Linked DNA regions of Homo sapiens: region 1 is linked to region 2. Evidence: promoter capture Hi-C in 16 types of primary human blood cells and fetal thymus (Javierre and others, 2016). All regions are on one chromosome and are shown on one strand. The core of a region is centred on a gene start or on the middle of the fragment in contact, and the rest is flanking DNA. Distances in the headings are between cores, read along the strand shown. Region 1 overlaps ZRANB2-AS1 (ZRANB2 antisense RNA 1). Region 2 holds the start of CRYZ (crystallin zeta).

Evidence for each region. The method cuts DNA at HindIII sites, captures the fragments that hold promoters and counts their contacts. A CHiCAGO score of 5 or more calls a contact.
Region 1: a contact is called between a fragment that was not itself captured here and the fragment with the promoter of CRYZ in region 2, in 2 of 17 cell types (total CD8 T cells and naive CD8 T cells). The highest score is 5.8, in total CD8 T cells.

What each region holds. Positions count from the first base shown.
Region 1 is chr1:71,048,856-71,054,372 of GRCh38, reverse strand. It overlaps ZRANB2-AS1 (ZRANB2 antisense RNA 1), which reads right to left. Exons shown (of 3, transcript NR_038420.1): 2 at 5,385-5,517. Among named protein-coding and RNA genes, the nearest start is that of PTGER3, 3.8 kb to the right of the region's middle. The HindIII fragment of the contact is 1,803 bases long and covers 2,907-4,709 here.
Region 2 is chr1:74,730,104-74,735,796 of GRCh38, reverse strand. It overlaps CRYZ (crystallin zeta), which reads left to right and starts at 2,747. Exons shown (of 9, transcript NM_001889.4): 1 at 2,747-2,841. TYW3 (tRNA-yW synthesizing protein 3 homolog) reads right to left here and starts at 2,645. Exons shown (of 6, transcript NM_138467.3): 1 at 2,379-2,645. The coding sequence starts at 2,552. RefSeq lists enhancers at 2,031-2,130, 2,511-2,800, 2,355-3,065, 3,661-3,950. The HindIII fragment of the contact is 10,326 bases long and covers 1-5,693 here.

The DNA of each region.
Region 1 (5,517 bases), core at 2,559-5,058, 3.7 Mb after region 2:
GTGGCTGCGGGCTCCAGACCACGTCGGCTCCACCTGCCCGGAACCCAGCTGCCACTAGCGCTGGCTGGGAACACAGGCTTGCTGTCTTCTCCGGGTCTTGGGAAACCTGTACTTCTTAAGACTCATTCAGGATCAGCATGTCCATCCCAAGGACTTCTTCAGGAAAGGCACTCCCTCCCCACTAAAAGAACGTTCCTCAAAGCAATTTGAGAAGCGCAGCCCATCCGCCTCCAGCTGGGTGGCCGCAGACACATCAGGCTCCGGCCTCCCTGTATTTTCATGCCCCACAGTGAAAAACGTGGGCATTTCTTTCCAGTTATGTCCTTAGCCAAATGCGGAGCTTTTCTGCCCAGGATGGGCAAAATTCTAGCACTGGCAGGGGTGCAACCCAAGGGGTGGCCGGGGTTCTCACTGCCCTTGGCCATGGGGCAGGCTGGTCTAGACAGCAGGGGGATGTTTTCAGGGTTGGAGTTTCCCCCCACCTAGTCCTGAACCTATTGGGTCATGGAGCACCTGTGTTCCCATGAGGCCAGTGTGGGCCACACATGACTTCAAACGGCCCTTGAGGCTTGATTAAGTGTGCCAGTTTCATTCCAAACATGCTGCTCTAAAGCATCCCTGCTGAGCCACAGGAGGATCAGATACTGTGAGCTTCTGGCCTGTTGATACTCAAGAGCCAGGGCATGCGGGGAAGACTCCAGAAGTCCTAACTCTTGCTAACCTTACATCTGGGATTCTTCCACCCTCAGCTGAAGAACTTGATGAATTTCAACTTTGAAGAGATTCTTCTAACACTTGGCCATTTCAACCAGGCTTTGCTAAAGTCCTCTGAAATTGGGGGACTGAAAGCCAATTACTTAGATCACAGGTTGCCTGTGAAATCTGCAAGGACCTGCTGTCAGGGCTCATTAAACCCCAAAGTATGGCCCCTTTGGCATGTGGACTACTCTGACCCAGAGGAGACTGGAAGATCTCAGAAGCCTAGCCTTTGTCCTTCCCTCCTGGTTCCTGTGCCCTTTTCTCCCACAAAGTGAGTCACAGAAACCAGAATTTGTTTTCCCCAAGGCAGGTCATAGAAACTAGAACTCCTCTCTCCCAAACATAGCCATAAAACCTAGCAAGGTCACTCTGTCCCTTCTCCCTGGAAAACCCCTCATTCCCGAGGGGTCCTGCCCCATACCCAGGGGAAGGGGAATTGTACAAAGCAACCTTGTTGGGTTTCCCCACTCCGTCCATCACTGTTAGGCCACGTTAGCGTGGGTGACAGAGTGAGACTGTCTCTTTAAAACAAATAAAACAATAGAATTTCTGTGCCTACTAACTAAAAGAGATAATCACACGTTGTTCAATACAACAACAGCAACAACAAAGCTGTAGGAGTACTTGCAGTAATGATAGAGGAGAAAAGATGTCACAAGGAAAAATCCTCTTTTAATCTCAGAGGTTTATAGTTTTAACAGGTACATTTAAGTCTATTATCTATTTTGTTTTGTGGTGTAAGGTCTATGTTCATTTTTATATCCATACAGCTATCTAGTTTTTCCAGCACCACTTGTTAAAAAGACTGTTCTCCTGAATCACCTTAACACTTTTGACAAAAATCTGTTGAATGTCTGCATATGTGTACACATATCTATATCTCTATATGTGTATATATGATGCTCTCTATAATACTCTCTTTCATTGATCTATAGATCAGTGTCTTAGTTTGTTTTGTGCTACTATAACAGTACTACATCTGGGTAATTTATAAAGAATATAAATTTATTTCTCAATGTTTTGGATGTTGGGGATGTTCAAAAGCAAGGCGCCATCATCTGGTCTCTGGTGAAGGCCTTCTTGCCCTGTCCTCACATGTCAGGATGACAAGAAAGGGACCAAACTCCCTCTGTCAAGCCCTTTTGTAAGAGCAGCTAATCCCATTCCCTCAAGAGATGTCCTCATAGCCCAACCACCTCTTAAAGGCGTCACCTCTTAATACCATCATAGTAGCCATTAAGTTTCAACACGAATTTTGGAGAAGACACATTCAAACCATAGCATGCCTATCTTTATGCCAGTATCACGCTGCCCTGCATATAACAATAGTAAAATATAGTTAAATTTGTAAAAACAAGTATTTGAATTTTATTAAACTATTGCATTGGAAGGCATTCAAAAGCATACAGAAATCATAGAAGAGAAAAAAAGACCTGCAAATGAAAGGAGTAAAAATTATGACTTACTGGTTTTTGGGATCGAGGATCCTGCCCATTCTTCATGACTATGGCTATGGGAAATACTGGTAGAAAAAAAAAAATCATAGCCTTACTGGCAAAAAGTTCCAGAGACTGGAGTTAAGGCTTGAAAAGCCACTGCAAATTTAAGTAGGAAATCTTGGTAATGAGAACCAGAGAAGAAATGAGATAGAACTACCCAAATTCATGTCTCACAGCAAACTCTGCATGAGTGAAGGAGACCACATGAAGCCTGAGGAAAAAGCAAGCAAAGACCAGATAGAAATCTAGTCCCAGCACTTTGGGAGGTCAAAGTGGGAGGATCATGATGTTAGGAAATCGAGACCATCCTGGCTAACATGGTGAAACCCTGTCTCTACTAAAAATACAAAAAATTAGCCAGGCGTGGTGGTGGGCGCCTGTAGTCCCAGCTACTTGGGAGGCTGAGGCAGGAGAATGGCGAGAATCTGGGAAGCGGCGCTTGCAGTGAGCCAAGATTGCACCACTGCATCCAACCTGGATGACAGAGTGAGACTCCGTCTAAAAAAAAAAAAAAAAAAAAAAAAAAACAAAACACACACAAAAACCATTATTCAAGAATACATCTACTTTGATTACTTTGATGCTTTACTTAAGGGGATGTATTCCTCCCTGTGCTGTGTGTACTTTGGGTGGGAGAAAGCTGAAGCTTCAGAAACTTTAAATGTCAGGGAATAGCCCTAAGCTGGCAGAGTAGCTGCAAATAAGAGGAGAATCCCTAGAATCAAGGAACCCACACAGAAGGTGATCTCCATTGCTAACTGACCAGCAAATTACACAGGCATAGGGAAATCAATCTCTAGGAAGCCAAGCTAAAAGAGCATGGAAAACCATGAGAATGAAGCAGAGATACCAAGAGCAGCATGCCCCATGGGAGGCAATATTGGCAGTTTGAATCCGGACAAGTTAACTGTCAAACAGAGCAAACAAACATAAAATAGATAATACTCAGGGAAAAAAACCCGGTAGACTCCAGAGTCATTACAATATATTACAATGTCCAGTTTTCAATTAAAAAAAACAGGCATGTAAAGAATAGGAAGAAAAGACAGCAGAAAAGGCATTCATAGAAAGGGACTCTTTGATCTAGCAAAGACTTCTAGGCATTGCTTTTATTTTGATACAGTAATTACATTGATTGATGTTTAAATGTTAAGTCTACATTGCACTGTACTTCCATGACAATCATTCTGAGAAGACAAAAGCCATGGGATCAGTGTTTCTCCTGTTATTTGGCACTTAGAATCAGTAATTTTGCACTAAAATATAAACCCCATGAATATAGGCACTGTTATGTATTGCTTTTGTATCCCTAATGACTGAAACAGTGTCTGACATAGATTGGGTGCTCAATGAATGGTTATTGAATGAATGAATGACTAAAATATAAACTAAAATTACTGGTTGGCTCCATGAAGAAAGACTTTCAGATATTTTCCATCCATAGTGAGGCAATCAAAGGCTGATCATGTGACTCATTATTAATCTTATTTTGTATCCATATTTAAGATTTTTAAATAGATGTTTAATAGAAGTAAATAGCAAAATAAATTCATCATCACTAGCTAAATATTGACATACATTATACATTTTAAGCTGTAGGGTACAATTAAGTAATCTGTGAATTTAAAACATGTCCAGGTTAGAATTTCATTGAAAACATAATAGGTGAATATATACTTTAAATTAAAAAAAAATGAATATCTGGTCTTTCAGTTTAATCCTCTACTGGTTTATTGACTGTTAAACAAAGTTGCCAATTTGTAACCTCAAAGGAAAACAAAGTGACCACAATTATGTACTGATAAGTAGATCTCTAGGAAAGAAATCAGAGATTCCCTAAGCAAAGCATCCATTGGCCCTATGGAAATTCTCTTTAAAACAGCATAAAGCATGTTATTAGCCTTTTGGTCACTAGAGGGTGGTGTTGTTTCAGACCAACACAATTCACACTATATCCGTAGTAACTGACCAGAAAGTACCAACCAGAATCCAACTGCCAGCTTCACACTGTTACTCCACAAAACCTCACAGTCACTTGTTTACAAGGTGAATAGCTAAAGGCAGACAATATAGGATGAAGCAAAGTGCTGAAAGAAGAGAAATACCCAAATTATCTGAAATGCAACACATTTTGTTCATTGGCATAGAGGTTAGTGAGAGGCTAACAATTCTTTACTAATACATGCCCCGACGCTTACCATGCTTATCAAGTCCAATTGGCTACAGCAAGCACTTCAGTGGGAGAAGTAAAAGTTTCAAAGAAGTCAAATATTTGTGAATAAAAATGAGAATAGTTTTTGATGTAACTGGAAAAAGATAAGCCTTGCTTCCTTTGCTGTGTGAATGGTGATATGGTCTTAAATTTTAAATATTGAATTACACTAGAATTTTACTAACTATAGATGGTATAAACTTGATAGCCACTTTCATCCAAATGCTTTGGATAAAGCTTTGTCTAAGAATAACCTCAAATATTATTTTATTTTCAAATGATATTAGGCTAGAAAAATACTATCCCAAATACAGGTTTGAGATTAATTCAAAATAATAAGACAAAAGTTTACGGAAGATTTTAGAATCAAACCATTTCACCCTTCCTAGCTGTTGTTCCCATTGTAAACGTGACATTTTAGTCAGTAAAACGCAAAAGTGCAAAACATTTTTAAATGACAGCAAAACACAAAATGAAATTCATGTTGTGATTAATGCATCTTATTAAAATGGAGTTTAAGTTGCATTCTTGCTTTTCCTTCTTTAAAAAACATATAATGTTATAGTGATATTTTTTCAAACTCTCATACAGAATCAAGACAACAGCACATAAAGTATGCAGAGGGACATATCCCATTCTTACCTCTTAACAGTAATTTAAAAGTTAAGAACACCCATACAGAACATCAGCTAAGCTAGGAAAGGCAAAACTGATTGGGCTTGTTCTGAAAGTTGATCTGTGTCAATCAAAATAATGGTCTTTAGAGTGCTATATGATTAAGTCTAATTTCTTAAATATGAGGAAAAATGAACTTTGCAATTATTTTTAAAAATCTTTTCATCTCTTAGACAGTGTAAAAAGGCAAAAAGCAAAAAACACAAGACTTTCCCAAGATTAGGGGAAGATGATCTCACCGTTAATATTCATCTGCTGAGAGCAGTTATGGGACCCATGTCAGGAATACATGCTTCAAATAAGATGGGACTTGAGAATTGCTGAGAGACTTCAGGAACATTCTTTAACTTCATGGGGCCTCAGTTACCCCAC
Region 2 (5,693 bases), core at 1,498-3,997:
TGGAACCGGGAATTGCTATGCATGTCCTAAATAAATATTTTGACTTCATTGTATGACTTCGGTGATGGTGACTTACGTATCTGACATTGTGCTGGCTACTCTGAATCTTAGAGCCAAATGTATGGCCCACTTCTAGCAACTTTACAGGATCTAGTGGTGGGATTGGCAACTAATGCCATCGCTGGCTTCATCTTATCTATATTTTCTTTATCCAGATTTTCCCACTTTTTATTTTTTCTTGTGTTGCCTGTTTGTAAGTTGCCCCAAATCCTTACTGAAATAAGGCAGATTTTAAAATAAACCATAATACGAGGTGTAAGATAAGAAATAAAAGTCTAACCAGTACAGAAGCAGTCATTACTTCCAAGTAGGTAGTATGTGTTTGTGGGTTCAGGTGGGAGAGGGGAGTTTTGGGAATCATGTCTCAGATATGCAGAGATAGGAAAACATTTCAGGAAAAAAACCGCCAAAAAACATGAGCAAAAGCAAGTAAATACAAGATGAAAAGAACAGTTTAGTTTCAGTAACTAGCTAAAGATGAAGAAAAGCAATGAAAAAAAGGTTGAAAGGTATACTAGAGTAAGCATTTGGATTTTCTGATGTAGAAAAATGTGTAATAAAACATAGCATAGGTGAGAGATAAGCAGAGTTGCAATTTGTCAAACATGGTTTGGAGAAGAATAGTTAAGTGGCTTGTTAGAGAACCATTGCAAAAATCAAGGCGAGACAGAGTTATGGAAATGGGGCAAGAGAGAGTTTGTGGGCAAGAATGCCATTGCTCTGAAGGTGATGGAAGTGATTTAAAAATGAACAGGCCCTGCTAACTTGAGAGATCAGCAAATAAATGATCAGTCAATAATGGACCTAAAGAATGAGCCTAACAATGTGCTGTCTTCCATGCTCTTAAGCCAATACTACGAATAAAATCAGTACACAGCCAACTTTTACAGTGCATGGGCCAGGCACAAAGCCAAATATTTCAAAAAAAATTATCCTATTTTCTCCACACAAAATCCCTATAAAGCAGATACTTTTTATTATCCTCAGTTCATAGAACAGGAAGGGGCAGAGTTGAGATAGCTTTCCTAAGGTCACATAGCCCGTGGTTTTTAATCTAAGCAGTATCACTCCCAAGCAGCCTTATCCTCAGGGGATATGTCCCAAGACCCCCTAGTGGATGCCTGAAACCTCAGATCAATTTCTTTTTCCTTCTTCACTTCACAATTTCACTGACAAGATTCATTCTTTCCGTAGATCTTAGCAACCTCAGCATATGCTGTTTTTTCTTTCCTTAAGTCTTTCCTTAAGAACTTTCACCTTTTCACTTCAAAAAAGCACTTTAAAACTTACTGTTGGCAGATCCAAATCGCCAGCATCATTACTCCCGTACTTTGGGGCCATTATTAAGTAAAATAAGAGTTACTTGAACACAAGCACTGTGATACCACCACAGTCGATCTGATAACCCAGAAGGCTACCAAGCAGCTAAAGGGCAGCAAGAATATATAGTGGAATATTCTGGACAAAGGGATGATTCACCTTCCATTCTGGAAGGAGCTGGTTGGCTCAAGATTTTATCACGCTACTCAGAACAGCATGCAATTTAAAACTTACTAATTGTTTATTTCTGGAATTTTCATTTAATATTTTCAGACTGCTGTTGACTGGGGTAACTGAACCTGCAAATAAGGAGGTATGGCTTGTACAGCTGCTTCTTGATTTATGATGGGGTTACATCCCAATAAATCCGTCATAAGTGGAAAATGTAAGTCAAAATGCATTTACTACCCCTGTAAACCCATCATAAAGTTAAAAAAAAAAGTCTAACCATCCTAAATTATATACGATCGTACTTTTCTCTGCGTAAAACTACTAGAGTTGTAATAATGGAGGGGCTCACTAGGAGGCAGTAAACTCCTTAACACTGGTGATGTTCAAGCATGCAGTAACAATGATTTGCCAGAGCTGTTGATGAGCGGATTCCGGCATTCAATACCTTAGCAAGCTACAAAGTCTTTAGATTCCCTTAGTATTCATATAATAAAATCAAATTTTCTAAACTTTGCCACACAAGATAGTTCCCAGGTCAGCAGTTTCAACATCATTTGGGCACTTGTTAGAAATGCACAGTATCAGGCCCTACCCTACACTTAAAGAATCGGGATCTGTATTTTAAAAGATGCTCAGCTGATTAATAGCCACGTTAAACTTTTAGAAGCACTGATCTAATCCCCTAAATTTCACATATAAAGAAACAGAGACCACCCCTCAGAGGAGCAAACACAGACATGCTGGATCCGGTCGTCACTGGATGGGAACAGGGCTCCTGAAGTTTCGCACTAGAAGGCAGGCGATGGACAGGCGCAAAGGGGCCTCACCCGGTCAAGGAGTAGGATGCGGCCAGCGCAGGAGCTGGTGGTGAAAAACTGATCTCGCATGTTCAGAAACTGCACAAGCTCTACCACATCCTCGTCAACACTGCCCTTCCGGCTGAGGTCCGCTTTGCTCAAACATTGCGCCTTCCATTTCCTGAACTCCGCGCTGCGATCCATGGGTGACGGACTCAGGGTCTGCGCTCGGCTCCTTCATGGTAGCCTCGTCTCTCCCTGGGGGCAGCCATATTGAAGCGAGCGGTGGCCGAAAAGGTCCAAACTTCCTCTTCGTTCTTAATTTGGGAAATTCTAGTGCCTTCGCCTAGGGGTGGAGAGAGGCGCACATCCTGGGTGGAGCGAGGCGCACATCCTGGGTGGAGCCTGCAAAAGTTGGAGAAGGTGTGGCAGTCCTCATTTCTGTGGAATCTGAAGAAGCCCACGCAGATTTTAATTCCCACTCTAGATTCTGGTAAGTGGTTTTAAAAACTCTCCTTAGTTGTTTAGACAGCGAATCTCCCCACTGCTCGTCCAAGTGGAACCGAGTTTGATTTTGGCTGCACCCCTTTCCTGCCCTCTGTCCTCCCAGAGAACTAGTGCGTAGAGCTCCAGACCGAAGCCATTCCCCTCCAGGGGCTGCAAGTTCCCATCCATAAATCAGGTAGGAAGTTTTGCCTTCTGGTCCTGGGCTCCTAGCCCTGGTCCTGCGTTTAGGCTCTGAGTTTAGGCTACCACACCATGAGGTGTCCGTTGGCACTACCCCTGCCCAGCCTCCGCCCCCCGCACTCCCTGTCCCCCAGCCCCACGCTGCACCCCCCCCCCCCCCCCCCGCCAGTCACCCGCTTGATTTTTCCCTGCAGCCAGTGCCTGGGTTTGGGGATTCCTGCAGCAGCGCCCAGCGGTCTGTCCAGGGCCCCTTCCCACAGCCCAGCTCTCAGCTGTAGAGGATTTGTCCTAGGTAGGGCCCCTTCCCACAGCCCAGCTGTAGGGGATTTCTTCTCCTAGGTAGGGCCCCTTCGCACAGCCCAGCTGTAGGGATTTGATTTCTTCTCCTAGGTAGGGCCCCTTCCCACAGCCCACCTGTCAGCTGTAGGGGATTTCTCCTAGGTAGGGCTCCTTCCCACAGCCCAGCTGTGGGGGATTTCTTCTCCTAGGTAGTGCCCCTTCGCACAGCCCAGCTGTAGGGGATTTGATTTCTTCTCCTAGGTAGGGCCCCTTCCCACAGCCCACCTGTCAGCTGTAGGGGATTTCTCCTAGGTAGGGCTCCTTCCCACAGCCCAGCTGTAGGGGATTTCTTCTCCTAGGTAGTGCCCCTTCGCACAGCCCAGCTGTAGGGGATTTGATTTCTTCTCCTAGGTAGGGCCCCTTCCCACAGCCCAGCTGTGGGGGATTTTTTGTCTTGGATTCCCACAATTACAGGTTTCCCGGAGCTTCCTCCAGCTTTGCCATCAGGATTGCAGTCTTTGAGAGAAATGTATAGTTTTATTGACCCTGTGACGCCCACCACCTAGAATAATCTTCAAAAGAAAATTACAAAACACCCTGTTAACACATCGTTGGATGTTTATACTGAGTTTCTAGAGGAGACTCAGTGACCAGGGAAGGTGTGTCAATGATTAAACCTAAAGGCTAAAGTTTGGAATGCTTGTCCGTAGCTAATGGAAATTGTTGTGCGAGTCCCTCTGAAGCCACTGTGATTACGTGTCTGGTTAGCGCAGCGAGTTCAGCAGCAAATCTCTCCAAGCTCTACTCCTCCAGCATTAGGGAACAGACTGCCCTGTTCCATACGATCATGGAACCTGGAGGAGTCCGAAATTATTAAACTCCTCCCCTCTTCTTACCCCGTCCTATCTCAAGTGAACAGAAGTGACCTGATAAGATCACACAGCCAGGAAGAGACTTTCTCTGACCACTTGTAATTCTTGCCTTTTTTACATTTCTGGGTTAATAATAAACCATATGCTTACATGAGTCATTGTGTATTAGCAGCAGAACAATTTGTAATGATTGATTTTTTTTCTAAGTTTTCAGTTTTTAAAATTCTTGCCAGAATTCTTATTTAATTTTACTTTTGCTCTTGTCTCATAATGTTCCTTTGCTCTGGCTTTGTGACTTGATCTGTTCATCCTATGTTAAAATATACTCCTAACATTTTCCCAATTCCTTTAATTTTCGTTTAAATCAAATGGATACAAGCATAGCCAGGAAAAAGATCACTGTTGGAAGAGGGATTTTAGATTTTCTATTTCCTAGATTTGTAAGGCATATTGGCAACCTTTCAGAGGTAAAATTAAACCAAAAATTAAACCAAGGGACTCTTAATTTTTAAAAGTTTATATTTGATAAACAGGAAGGCCTATTTGAAGTATAGTTTAATTAAAAAGCACAAGCAATGGAAAGGCCTGTCCTGTTCACAAGGATCCGATGCTAGGGAGTAATTTTTTTTTATACATTTTTAAAAATAGAATCATGTCCTTTGTATTTCTGCTGCATTCCCTGACTTAGTGGGCATTTGAGAAATTTCAAACTCTAAGCAGATGCCTTAGTCATAAAATATGCGATTCTACCTGCAGGTTAGTTTGATTTCACATTTTCTAGCTCAATCTGTCTCACTATCACTATTGTAAAGTTTATTTCTACGAAGTAAAGGGTCTTATATGCCAGCATCTCAAAGGGTGAGATGAAAAGGATGGTAAAGAAAAAAATCAGCTAACACCATTTAATTACAGGACTTGGGTTCTAGCTTTGCTTCTGTGTGACCCTGACCAAGTCTCTTAACCTCTTGTGATGTTTTCTCATCCATAAAATGGATGGCGATTTTATTTTTACTTCTGCATAAAATAATAGTTTAAATAACTTCTCTACCTGTTCTGAAAACAGTTAAGTCAATGGAGGTGGAAGACTTATGCTTTTTAGAAGAAATCCGGTATTACAGGATTTTAAGTATTATCCTATTTGCCATCAGTATGCCACGTTATTTTATTCTTTGTGTAATCTCCTTTGACAGGCTTCATCGTTATGAAGCATATGATGATCCCGTGGATAGGTGAGTTCAAAGGCAATGAGTGCAGGTTGGAGCCTGATGAATCAGAATGCTAAAGGCTCAGTGGGAGATAAGATCAACAGAAGCAAAGTAGGAGATAGTGTGGTCAGGCCATGCCCCATCACTTTCAAGCCTGATAGGATAATGTAGTCAGATAGTACTGGGCAAAGCAGATGAGTCTTCCAAATCCAGTAGGATGAGTCATCTTCCTTTATTCCTTTCTCCCAACTTAGCCAATGCCAAAATGTGGGGGGGGAAAGATACAGATCCTATTTCAGAGT